2 separate regions of the Homo sapiens genome follow, and region 1 is linked to region 2. Evidence: promoter capture Hi-C in 16 types of primary human blood cells and fetal thymus (Javierre and others, 2016). All regions are on one chromosome and are shown on one strand. Each heading gives the region's core, a stretch centred on a gene start or on the middle of the fragment in contact. The rest is flanking DNA. Distances are from core to core; before and after follow the strand shown. Region 1 holds the start of LCP2 (lymphocyte cytosolic protein 2). Region 2 holds the start of CSNK1A1 (casein kinase 1 alpha 1).

Evidence for each region. The method cuts DNA at HindIII sites, captures the fragments that hold promoters and counts their contacts. A CHiCAGO score of 5 or more calls a contact.
Region 1: a fragment that was not itself captured here is called in contact with the fragment with the promoter of CSNK1A1 in region 2 in 1 of 17 cell types (activated CD4 T cells); the score reaches 8.0 in activated CD4 T cells.

Annotation. Positions count from the first base shown.
Region 1 is chr5:170,293,860-170,299,761 of GRCh38, forward strand. It overlaps LCP2 (lymphocyte cytosolic protein 2), which reads right to left and starts at 3,918. Exons shown (of 21, transcript NM_005565.5): 1 at 3,675-3,918. The coding sequence starts at 3,752. RefSeq lists an enhancer at 3,021-3,100. The HindIII fragment of the contact is 2,620 bases long and covers 127-2,746 here.
Region 2 is chr5:149,548,981-149,555,088 of GRCh38, forward strand. It overlaps CSNK1A1 (casein kinase 1 alpha 1), which reads right to left and starts at 2,459. Exons shown (of 10, transcript NM_001892.6): 1 at 1,862-2,459; 2 at 1,095-1,201. The coding sequence starts at 1,984. It also overlaps a transcript of ARHGEF37 not described here. RefSeq lists enhancers at 521-1,720, 1,967-2,026, 2,157-2,216, 2,247-2,916, 2,616-3,409 and 3 more. The HindIII fragment of the contact is 4,606 bases long and covers 1-2,775 here.

The DNA of each region.
Region 1 (5,902 bases), core at 187-2,686, about 21 Mb after region 2:
AACTCAATTTAAAATAATTTTAATGACCACAACATTATTTAATCATGCCCTTATTGCTGAACATTTAGATTATTTACCAAGCTGCTGTTTCAATAATGATAATAAAAACGGCGAACAATTATCGAAAGCTTTCTGTGTGGCAGGCAGTGTACCAAGTAGTTAAACTAGTCTTCAATCATTTAACCCTCACATTTTGCAGATGGGGAATGAGAGGCACAGACAGCAAGTAACTTGCATGAGGTTCCATGGGTTTTAGGTGACAAGTTTCAGAACAGGCTTTAATGTCTCTTTCAGAAATATTCCCCTTTTAATTACAGCATAACTTATATACAGTAAGTAAAATGAGCAAATGAAAATGCAGCTTCATTTGTTTGCAGTACCTCATCCCAATCAAAATAGAGACAATCATGGATACTATTTTGCGAACTTTTTTCTCCCTCTTTGAGATAAATTGTTTAAGTCAGAACCTCAGAACCGAGTTATATAGGATCCATAGGAACGAGCATTTTTAAGATCTTGGTTATTTTCCTAGACCAATCAGCAATCATATGAGGTGCTAGTTTCAACTTGTCCTCAACAGCATAAATGTTCACATTTGAAGTATCTCTCAACTTGCTGCTTTGGGGTGGAGCATTTGAGGTTAAATGTTTCTCCTTGAGGATCCTAGGTTCTTCTCACAAGGGTGGGCCTCATGGTTTGTGGCAGCCTTCTTTTGGAGCACATTTTAAGCCATATTTTTATCTTATAGCTAGCAAATCCAAAGAATAAATACAATTGTTATGAAATCTTAGCTTGGAAGGGTGGGATGATTATCACACTCAGAAAGCTGACTTAGAAGTTGATATTGAAAGCACATCCCATCTATGGAGCCCTGGTATCCCCTTTATCTACAGGCAGTGGGGGGTAAGTGGTTCTTGGAAGAGTCAACTGCCTTTAATTCATCATTCTCACTGTTATCATTATGAGATAAACCAGATGATTTTGAAGAGTGCTAACTTTGTGTCTAGATCAGCAGAGAGTCCTGCAGACTGGGACCCAGGCATTTGATTCTGCTCCAGCAAGATCTAGGCTTGTGGACCTCAAATCTGTATTTTTAAGGAGCACCCTAGACGATTCCTATGGCATCCAGCATTGGTAGGCACTGGTCCAGAAAAGTTACCTGGATTTGTAGTAAGGAAGACTGAGGCCTCTAGAGGGAAAGAGGCTGGTCTAAGGTCACACAGTGAGCTGGGATACCAGCTGGGACCCCACCTGGGATTAGGACACACAGCTCTGAGCCAGTGCCTCTCCACTGCACGACCCAAGGATGTTCTCCTGCAAGTCAAAAGGAATTGGAGAGATTGAACAAATATGTAACATGGTCTCTGTCCTCAGGAGCTTATATTCCAGACACAGGACGAGGTACCCATGTCAGAGACAAGAAGACGCAAAGTCCCACCAGTCTGCATGGGTGTCCCCAGCTAGGAGCCAGTTAATAGAGAAGGTAAAAGGGCAGAAGGAACACGCATTAGGATCCATTTGTCTGCTGAGTGCCTTGCACACATCATTTGCTTTAATCCTCACAACCAACCCATTGGGTTAGTTACTGTTCATATCTCTATTTCACTGATGAGGAAGTTGAGGCACAGAGAGGCAAAGCAACTACAGGAAAGTCGCCAAGCTAGCAGGTGGCAGAGCCAGGGTAAAGTGTGTCCGACCTCAGAGCTGAGTCGAGAGCTGTCTCCAAGGGAGGCCTGACCCCACTACTTGGGTAGAGTTTGCATCTGCAGATCAATTCTTTACATGTCATGTTTGACAGCTAAGATCCATTCCCAAATGACTCTGCGGTCCATTCGTTTGGTAGTTTCTTTCAGGGGGCTGAGGTACTCAGAATCTGAAGGGTTTCTATCCAAGTCTGTGGAGGGACTAGAACTTCCAGGATCACAGATTTGCCTCAGTCTCCTAGTTTCTTCCCTCAGTCCATTTATGGCAGAAGAAGGAACCTGCCTGGGTGCTGTAGATTTGTCCTGGGGTCTGAGATCTCCAGGAAGAAAACTCTCCCTTCCCCCAGCTCAGGCAGTGAGGTCTTCCTGTACCATCCCTGACCCGTGGTCCATCTCCCTGTACTGATGGGAGTTTTAGGGATCAATTCTCTGTTGCTCAATTGGATTGTATAATTCTCCTGGTCACACCTGAATGTTAGGCCTATCTGTGCCTCTCAGCCCGTCCCAAGTCTTTCTCTTCATAATTCTCAATTCCTTTCTTTTTCCCTTATCAAGGTAACATGCCACTTTATTCCCTCTTGGCAAATTTTACCTTGTTGCCCTATCTTATTTGGTCTATATTTGAGCAAGATATTTAGAAACATCCTTCAAAAAACCAGTTGCGCAACAATATTTGCTGAAATCTAAGTTTATTATGACCTTGCAGAAGGAAAATAACAGAAATGAAAGCACAAAATATGGCAAAAAACAGGATCTGTGAACTGTACCCCTACCATACCACACCTAGTTCAACATGTTCTCATTTTCTTCTTCAGGTTGGGGGAGAACAGCTGTGACTATAAATGCCTCGGAAATGCATAGACCCCAGGTTTGGCTATACGTCCTAGGGAACCTCGTCTACCCTCTTGAATCTCAATTTCCCCAGGAAAAACACGAAGCTGAATTAGATGACTTCTACCATCTTAGCTTTACAATCTCATCTTTATGACAGTCTGGAATATCAACAGAATCCGATGCCAGCCTGCAGGGATGAGGGTGTTAGAAGCTTAACCGTCTCGCACAAGTCATCTTACCACATGGTCAGGGTAGAGGGACTATAACTAAGTCATGTGGCTTGAGATCTGCCCAAGCAGATGCGTTGTCCCCTTCTGCCAATGACCAAGCACAGGGATCCTTCAACCTTTCCTCTAAGTCCAGAAGATAAGACAGCAACGCTCTGGTCCCAGCACCGCCACAAGCCTCTTTTCCTCTAGGGGCCTCAGTTTTCATAGCTATAAATTGGGGCTCACATCAGTTTTCTGTCCTGCTTCACAAGACTCTCATAAGGCTCCAAGGAGACTGCCCCAGGCGGGAGCTTGAGGACCCCCCTTAGGGTCGTGAGCAGTGAAAGCCCAAATGCTGTGTCTGGCACTGCTCATCATAGTCCTCTATCCAGCCCTCCCACCCTGCCTATTCTTTCTCCTGCCTCCAGGACACCACGTCTCCCCTTTCTAGTAAGTAGCGTTGATCTCATTAGCAGTTACAACAGTTCTCTGCATCTCAGAGCATGGACTTTAAAACCAGATAGGTGTGGCTTGAGTCTTGCCTCTATCACATGTAGTCCCTAGGGCTTCGGACCATTTCACTTCCCTGAGCTGATTTTGCAGCTGAGTCAAGGGGATAACAATGCTGACCTCACAACATAGTAGGGAGCGCTAAATGGGACAGTGCCTGTGAGACACCGAATTCAAACCCTAGCACATAATAGGCACATACTCATTTGAGGGCTTCTGCTCCCATCCTTCTCTCCGGAACTCATGGTCAGGAAAACTCAGCGGTCTATATGGCGCTCACTCAACCAGTAAAGTTGCCATAGGGTTCCATTGCTATCTTATACACCTCCCACATTCTGCCCCAATTCCATCGTCAAGCCTCAGCTCAGCCCACCAAGGGCACTAGCATCATGACCATTCACACAAGAGCAAGGCTTACCTTCTTGAAATAGTCAGCAAGGCTGTCGGGGTCCCAGCCCAGGACCTCTGAGCGAAAGGGCACATTCCTCAGTGCCATGGCTGCTCTCCCGGGAAGAAGCTCACAAGCTGAGCATGGGCGCTTCACCCATGGGCAGAGAAGCTCAAATCCAGAGCTCGGAGGCGTTCTTGGCTCTTCCAACTCCCAGCTACCCTGTGGAACACCCCTGTTGGAGCCGATGTCTTTTCTGGCGTAGCCAGATCCCAGAAAGCAACGGCTTCCTCTGCGAACAAATATGGTCTCTTCTCAGAAAACGACTCAGCTAGTTTCCTTTACCACTTCCTCTGCTGGGCTCTAAATAAGTAAACAAGGAAGCCCAGCTCTGGAGGCTTGAGATGCAGAGAGAGCCACAGGGTTGGTAATTCCCCACTGGCTCCAGTCACCCCAACCCAGTAGGAGAGGCAATGAAGGGGTCTTAAACTCCAATGTGAGTCTGAGTAATTTTCCTTTAAACTCTGGGCACCCATATGTCTACACTGCATTCTTGCTCAGCTGGGGCTTTGCAGACCAAAATCTATCCTGACGGTTGACCTGAAATACAGACAATTTCCCACATCAGTGAACTGCTGGAGCATGTTTTTTTAATGCTTTCCAACCACTTTCCCCTCCCACCATCAAAGACTGGGATTCTTTCAGCTGCCTCTTTACAGTTGTCATGAGAGGGTCCTCAAGGAGTGAGTGAGTCAGGCACCCAGGGCTGAACAAGGTGCTACACTGTGCAGACAGGGCTCAGTTTCTGATATGACTATTTCTGTGCTATGCAACCTTAGGCAAGGAGTTAAAAGCTGGGAATCTCAGTTTCCAAATCTGTATAATAGGAAAACAGTGATTCTTCATATGCACATAAAACTTAGATGCATTCAACTAGACAAACCTAAAAAGAAAAATTAAAAAGAAAAAAAACTTAACAATTGCTATTGGTAGTGTCATATATTCCATTCACTATTGTTTCCACAATATATTTTATTCACTATTGATTCTGCCATATATTCTAGCCAAAGAGCACATTCCCTGGAGATAGGAGGTGAGAATTTGCTGTTTTCTTAGTTTCAGACATTGTTCATTTCTCATAACTGAACAACTTATTGGCAGAGGGTGAGTCCAGTGTATAAAAGCAACTATATTTGTGCAATAAGGCAACCTCTAAACACAAGTTACTACTTCATCTAATGCCACACACACACACACACACACACACACACACACACGAGTCATCTGTTCCAAGGCTGTTGCCTTTACTAAGTGATGCTATGTTGGTCCTTGAGGTGGTGCCTTCCTGAGGGTTTTCAAGCATAGCTTTGGCCATGCACAGTTTTCTTCTTATACACACTCTGAGGAGCCCCGCCGTCACGGTAATGCACCTGCCTCACAAGCTGGTGGGCAGCTTAAATGAAATACACATTTTGCTCCAGGCCCAGCACTAGCTCATCAATGTGAGCTGGTGTTAGCCTCACCTTAGAAGGTGCTGAGGGCATCAGTGAAGGTAGCCCAGGCCATTTGCTCCTTGCAGGGCCTCACACCTAAGAACTCTTTTCTTTTCTCTCTTTCTTTCTTTCTTTCTTTTTTTTTTTTTTTTTTTATTGAGACGGAGTTTCGCTCTTGTTGCCCGGGCTGGAGTGCAATGGTGCCATCTCGGCTCACTGCAACCTCCGCTGCCTCCCAGGTTCAAGCGATTCTCTTTCCTCAGCCTCCCGAGTAGCTGGGATTACAGGCATGCACCACCACGCCCAGCTAATTTTGTATTTTTAGTAAAGACGGGGTTTATCCCTGTTGGCCAGGCTGGCCTGGAACTCCCAACCTCAGGTGATCTGCCCGCCTAGGCCTTCCAAAGTGTTGGGATTACAGGCGTGAGCCATTGTGCCTGGGCCGCACCTAAGAGCTCTTTGTAGCTGATCATTCTGTATAAAGCACAGCTCTGCTGTACAAAAGCTCCATCACGGGTGAGAGGTCACCTGGTCTTTCAAATCACTAGCATAGCAGTGAACAATAAAAAGCCATTTGAAGAGAAAGAGAGAGAGAAATCACTTTGAAGTAGAGTAAGCACAGAAGATGTCATGGAATTAACTGGGATTTAAGCAGGGCCGTGGAGGATGGAGTAAAAGGGAGGGCATTCCTGACGTGGATCAATCAATCTCTCTCTCGCTATCTCTCAAAACACATGCCACCTATGAAAAGGAACATTCCAGATC
Region 2 (6,108 bases), core at 1,209-3,708:
AAGAGGATCTTTAATCCCAAAAGTTAAAACATTAAAACCCTCCAAAGTAAAGTTAACCATTTGACAGAACAATGTCTATCTCGTCATCTTTTATCCTCGTTACTGCTATTTGCACTCACCAATATTCCACACCAACAAAGGCCCCAATTTCTCTGATGTGAAGATTTACTGACAAACTCAACAGGTTAAAATTACTTATCAAAGTGTGGCTAAGTGATTAAGATTTTTTTAAATACAACTGATATGAGTAAATTTTAACATAGTTGGTGCTGCTCAAACTGCCTTTGCCACTACCTATACAAATTTAGTCCCGACTGAAACGTGCCAAATATGACCATTCACGAAAAGAAAGAGTAATTAACACTTTTAAAAGAACTACGAAGGATTTTACATAGTGTAATTCAACAATTTCGTGTCACATCTGCTGCAGAGATCACAAACACTGTCACTATGCCATCTCCTTCCTCGAACCTCCACACCGCCTCCTGCAGCTTTATTCTTGGCTTTTCAAAGGTTTAATCCACTCGGGGCTGCTAAAGGAGGAATCAAGGAAGCATAATTTGTGAACTCAAGCTGAGAAAAGGGCAGGAATATGGGGTTGAGTCACGTCGTTCCGCCATTTTCTAAGCGGAGGAGGAAGACATGTTGGAACAAAAACACAACAAAAGAGCAGCCATTTCCCAAGCCAGCTCCAATAGCAACTCGAACTGACACTGCCGGGTCGCTTCGGCACCTTCAAATCCACTTCACTGGACAAACCTAAGTACATCAGAAGTGCCGCCGTAAAAAAGGCAGCAGCCAACCCTTCCGCGTAGGGATCAAAGATGACCTGCACGCATAACTGCAAATGAAAGCCTCGGGAAGAGTGAGAATGACGGAAGCGAAATGGAGCAGTGTAATACAATGAAATAAGTTGGCAAACTGAAATTTACTCAGTAATTGAGATGACTGACTTACAGGAAACCACCAGCTATAGGGAACCCAGGTAACTAAAACACCAAGACCCGGATTCAGCTGGTCTCATTACCTGCCTCTACCCACTTCCCCATTCCGTGCTTCCCTCAGCGGATCGCCTATATGCACCGGGTTCTTACCGTATGTGGGGGATGCCAACCCCACCTTGAAGAATCTTATAGAGCTTGCTCTCGTACAGCAACTGGGGATGCCTGGCCTTCTGAGATTCTAGCTTCACTGCCACTTCCTGCAGGGGAAAGAGGGGATGATGGCATCAACATCCCTACGGATTCAATGTCACTTAGGAAAGGAGGGAGACATTAGCAAAACTCCAAGTCGCGACTACAAGAAGAAGTGAAAAGCTGGAAAGAGAAAGCTCTCGGTAATTATAAAACGAGGCAACCAGCCTCAAAGGCCTCTTCAGGGGGTAGTGACGAAATCCGTACGTCCTCTAAAGTGCAGGAAAATGATTCATCCAGAAAAAAGAGGCAACCTCTGAACGTAGTGAGAGGTTTTTAAGGAACTAGGCGATCGGAAACTGTTCTAATTGGAACAAGAGGCCCAGTAGAATTAAGAATTAAAAAAAAAAAAACATGGGAATCACTGAAAGAGGATTTTGCCGTTTCCACCTTAAAAGACGGTTAAAAAAAAAAAAAGCTCGACTAAGGGACATTTATGGGACGTGTTTAACAAGGTGGGAAACTAGTTCCCCCAACCTTTCTATCGGGTTCTTGACCCTTTTAGGGAGACAGCGGACGAGGTTCGTAAGCCAGGAAAACTAGCTCCCTGGACTCCCTGGCGAGTGCGTGCGATGAGGAGAGGCCCGAGCACTTTGGGGGTGCACGGTGGTGGTGGGGGGAATGAGTAAAAGCGCAGCGTTATCGTGAACCCCACCCCAGATGATTACCTCGCCGTTGGTGATGTTGATCGCCAAATAGATGTCCCCGAAGGAGCCAGACCCGATCTTCCGTACCAGTTTATATTTCCCTCCGACAATGAATTCAGCCTTGGAGCCGCTGCTACTCGCCATCCTGAGAGACGAAGATGGAGGCTGGGGCCAAGCCCCGACACCTCTGGGAAGAGGACGGAGGCCTCGGGGCTCCTACACTAGGCAAGGCTACGGAGGAGGGCGGCAGGAAACGGAACACGGAGGCCTTTACCGGGGTTCGGGGCCCAGAATCAGCAGAGGGGAACCTGATCACCGCCGCTCAGTCAGGTTTCTTTTTGCCAGGCCGCAGTTTGTGAAGGGCTTCTCGGCGGTTACCAGGCTGGGCCACTTGTTTCTCGGCGGCCGCCGCTGCCTCGCTTGCGCGGCGACGTCGCGGGCTGGAAAAGGGGCGCGGTGAGCTAGGGCGGCGATACCGCTGCCACCACTGCCGCCGGCTCCGGCCCAGAGGGACCCCTGTCACTCCGCGGACGACGCCATCTTGTTACTCCAGCTCCAGCCAACACAAAATGCCCCCAGTCCCCGGGAGCCGCTTCTTCACGGCGCAGAGCACTCTGGGAAAGGGATCTCGGGCGCTCGCTCCGAAGGATCGGCAGCGAGAGGGCGGAACCGGATCCGTGAGAGTCGCGGCCCACGCTCCGAGCGTCACCCTGTCACCGCCCAGCTGCGCATGAGCGCTGCAACTCCTGCTGACTGCGCAGGCGTGCCGCGGCCTGTCCTCACCCCCGTCCCGGGCTCTCTTCCACTTCCGGTCGGCGGCGGCTCAGCAGGTGTTACCTGTTACTCGCCTCGGACCCGCCGGGTCTCTGGAAGGCTGAGTGGCCCCCCGGCCTTGATATTGGGAGGAGTCACCTTCATGTTTCGTGGCAGATGAAAGCTTAAGGCCTCCTTAGGAGTTGGGTATTGACCTGTGCTCTTTGAGGCGGTTTTTAACCTTTGATCTTTCTTCTGGCCGTTCCCCCGGACCGGCCTATTCCAACCCAGTTTCTGTTTGGAAAGAGGCTGTCGCCTCTGGTGGAGAGGAAGAGAAAAGCAGCCAGCGTCGAGGAATCTCTCAGGGCTCTCGGTTGTAGCAGAGCCTAGCTAATTACCCTTCATAATTAGAATTGTCCTATCTACTACGGAGTGTTATAGACCCTCTTTCCACAGGAGGGGAAGAAAGAAAGAAGCCGGAATCCCCCTGCCATCCTATGTCTTTGCATTATTGCCTCACTACCACATATGATCTTCAGAAGAAAACCTGGTATGTTGCTCATAATGAAGATTAAGGATAGATGGAATCAACAGAAAATTAATTTAACAAGAGTGAAAAAACTGTTATGTCCCCTCAACCCCACCAAAAAAAAAAAAAAAAAAAAAAAAAAGAATCGTATGTTGGTCTTGTTGAAAACCTCAGTATTAACCTGAACAGAGTAGAGGTAACTATTACAAAATTTAATTGACAACATTTAAAACTACACGGTAATTTTTTTCTTTTTTACAAAAAATCGATCAGAGAATCAAATTTTGACCACGTTTTGTTTTACAAAATTTGACCTGGGAAAATTGGGCTTAGTAATAATAATGTTCACGAAAGAAAACTCCATGGTTGATGCTATCATCTTAAGTCAGACCTCAGTCGTAAAAATTTAAGCTAAGCCTATCCTAAATAAAATTTAATTAAAATAGAAATGGGGGGCGGGCGCAGTGGCTCACGCCTGTAATCCCAGCACTTCGGGAGGCCGGGGCGGGCAGATCACTTGAGGTCAGTTGTTCGAGACCAGCCTGGCCAACATGATGAAACCCCGTATCTACTAAAAATACAAAAATTAGCCGGGTGTGATGGCGCACACTTGTAACCCCAGCTATTCGGGAGTCTGAGAATCGCTTGAACCCGGGAGGCGGAGGTTGCGGTGAGACTAGATCACGCCACTGTACTCCAGCCTGGGCAACAGAGAGACCCTGTCTCAAAAAAAAAATAATTAATTAAATAGAAATGGGAGAAAAATGTGAAGAATTTTAACTGCAACTTTGAAAGGTGGTCAAGTAATTAGTAATAGGGTTCATCTCGGAAGACAACTGAAGAGAGAGGGGAGGAGACTTCCCCTGAAGTTTAGCATGAAGTTTTTAAAGCCCAACCAACACTCAGGGTGCCCAACTCCCAAATCAGCACTGTTAGACATCATTCTCCTTTGGTGACTCTAAAGCATGTTTTGACTAAGTTAAAATCTGCTGTTAAATTCTGATATAAAATGCAGCCGGGCATGGTGGGCTCACACCTGTAATCCCAGCACTTTGGGAGGCCGAGGCGGCTGGATCACCTGAGGTCGGGAGTTCGAGACCATTCTGGCCAACGTGGTGAAACCCTGTCTCTACTAAAAATACAAAACTTAGCTGGGCATGGTAGCATGTGCCTTGTAGCTCCAGCTACTAGGGAGGCTGAGGCAGGAGAATCGCTTGAACCTGGGAGGCAGAGGTTACAGTGAGCCGAGATCGTGCCACTGCACTCCAGCCTGGAGACAGAGCGAGACTCCACTCCATCTAAAAAATTAATTAATTAATCAATTCTGGTCTTAAAAAAAAAAAAGCCAAGTTTAAGCATCTTGAGTTTTCCAGAGATCACTCCTTTTCTGCTAATTTTCTCACACACATCCAAAGTTTAATGGATTCCTCAGCTTGAGGAGTTCTCCATAAGGGGATGAGGTATACATTTAGACGGATATTTTGGTATTGTGATAAAAATGCTCAATGAAGCCGGGGGCAGGGTAAGGGTGGGCATGAAGTGGTCTAAATTAGTGATTCCCAAAGATCTGTGTATGGACAGGTGCAAGTGGCTAACAAAGTTTGCCATGAGGATGTGAGAAAAGTAAGCAATACATCTTTCATTTATTTATCTGATTTCACATTATATTTCATTCTGAGATTTAGTCTTTTCACATATGTGTCATTAAAATGCTCTTTTATAAAAAGGTGCCGATGGTAGATGGTTTTGGTTTTTAAAATATTCTTGCTCGGTTAAAAGTTGAGCCCGGGTGCAGTGGCTCACACCTGTAATCCTAGCACTTTGGGAGGCCAAGGAAGGGCAATCACCTGAGGTCAGGAGTTCGAGACCATCCTGGCCAACATGGTGAAACCCTGTCTCTACTAAAAACACAAAAATTAGCCGGGCGTGGTGGCGCATGCCTGTAATCCCAGCTACTTGGGAGGCTGAGGCATGAGAATCGCTTGAACTGGGGAGGTAGAGATTGCAGTGAGCCGAGATTGTGCCACTGCACTCCGGCCTGGGCAAGAGAGTGAGACTTTGTCTCAAAAAAAAAGTTGAAAGCTGCGTACGGTGGCTCATGCATGTAATCCCAACACTTTGGGAGGCCAAGGCAGGAGGATCATTTGACTCCAGGAGTTCCAGGCTGCTGTGAGCTATGATCAAACCACAGCATTCCAGCCTGAGCAACAGAGTGAGACCTTGTCTCAATAAATGAATGAATGAATGAATGAATGATAGGTACTTGTATGTCTAATCCTCCTCGCCTTTTTTTTAGAACTTGTGTAAGCCCATTAAATTCTACTGGTCTAAATGACTTCTGGAAACCCTTCTAACCCTGAGATTCTATAATTTTGTATATAAGGTATGAGTCCTCCTTTGTTTCCTGCCTGCTATAGTCACCATTCCAACACTGACAGTGCCCAGCAAAATGCACAAAAATGAGATGTGAGTGGGTCTAGCCTTTTCAAATGTGATTTTAGTTTCTTAAGATTTAAATTTATTGGATTTAAGAATGGCAAAATTGTTTTTTTTTTTTTTTACATAGAAAATGAAGTCCTCAGGTGTTGGCTATGACTCAGCCTTCTTCTTAAAGTCATGTATCATTTGCAGTAATTTTAGCCTAAAAGATTGAAGAATAACCTGTTTTTGGTGTTGCTGTTAAAGTCACAAATCATTCTGTACTTATTGAATCAGCAGCAGCTTTGGTGTAATGAAAGGAGTCTTTTAGGCCAGGCACGGTGGCTCACGCCTGTAATCCCAGCACTTTGGGAGGCCAAGGCAGGCGGATCACAAGGTCAGGAGTTCGAGACCAGCTGGCCAATATGGTGAAACCCCGTCTATACTAAAAAGTACAAAAATTAGCCGGGCGTGGTGGCAGGCGCCTGTAGTCCCAGCTACTCAGGAGGCTGAGGCAGGAGAATCGCTGGAACCCGAGAGGCGGAAGTTGCAGTGAGCTGAGATCGTG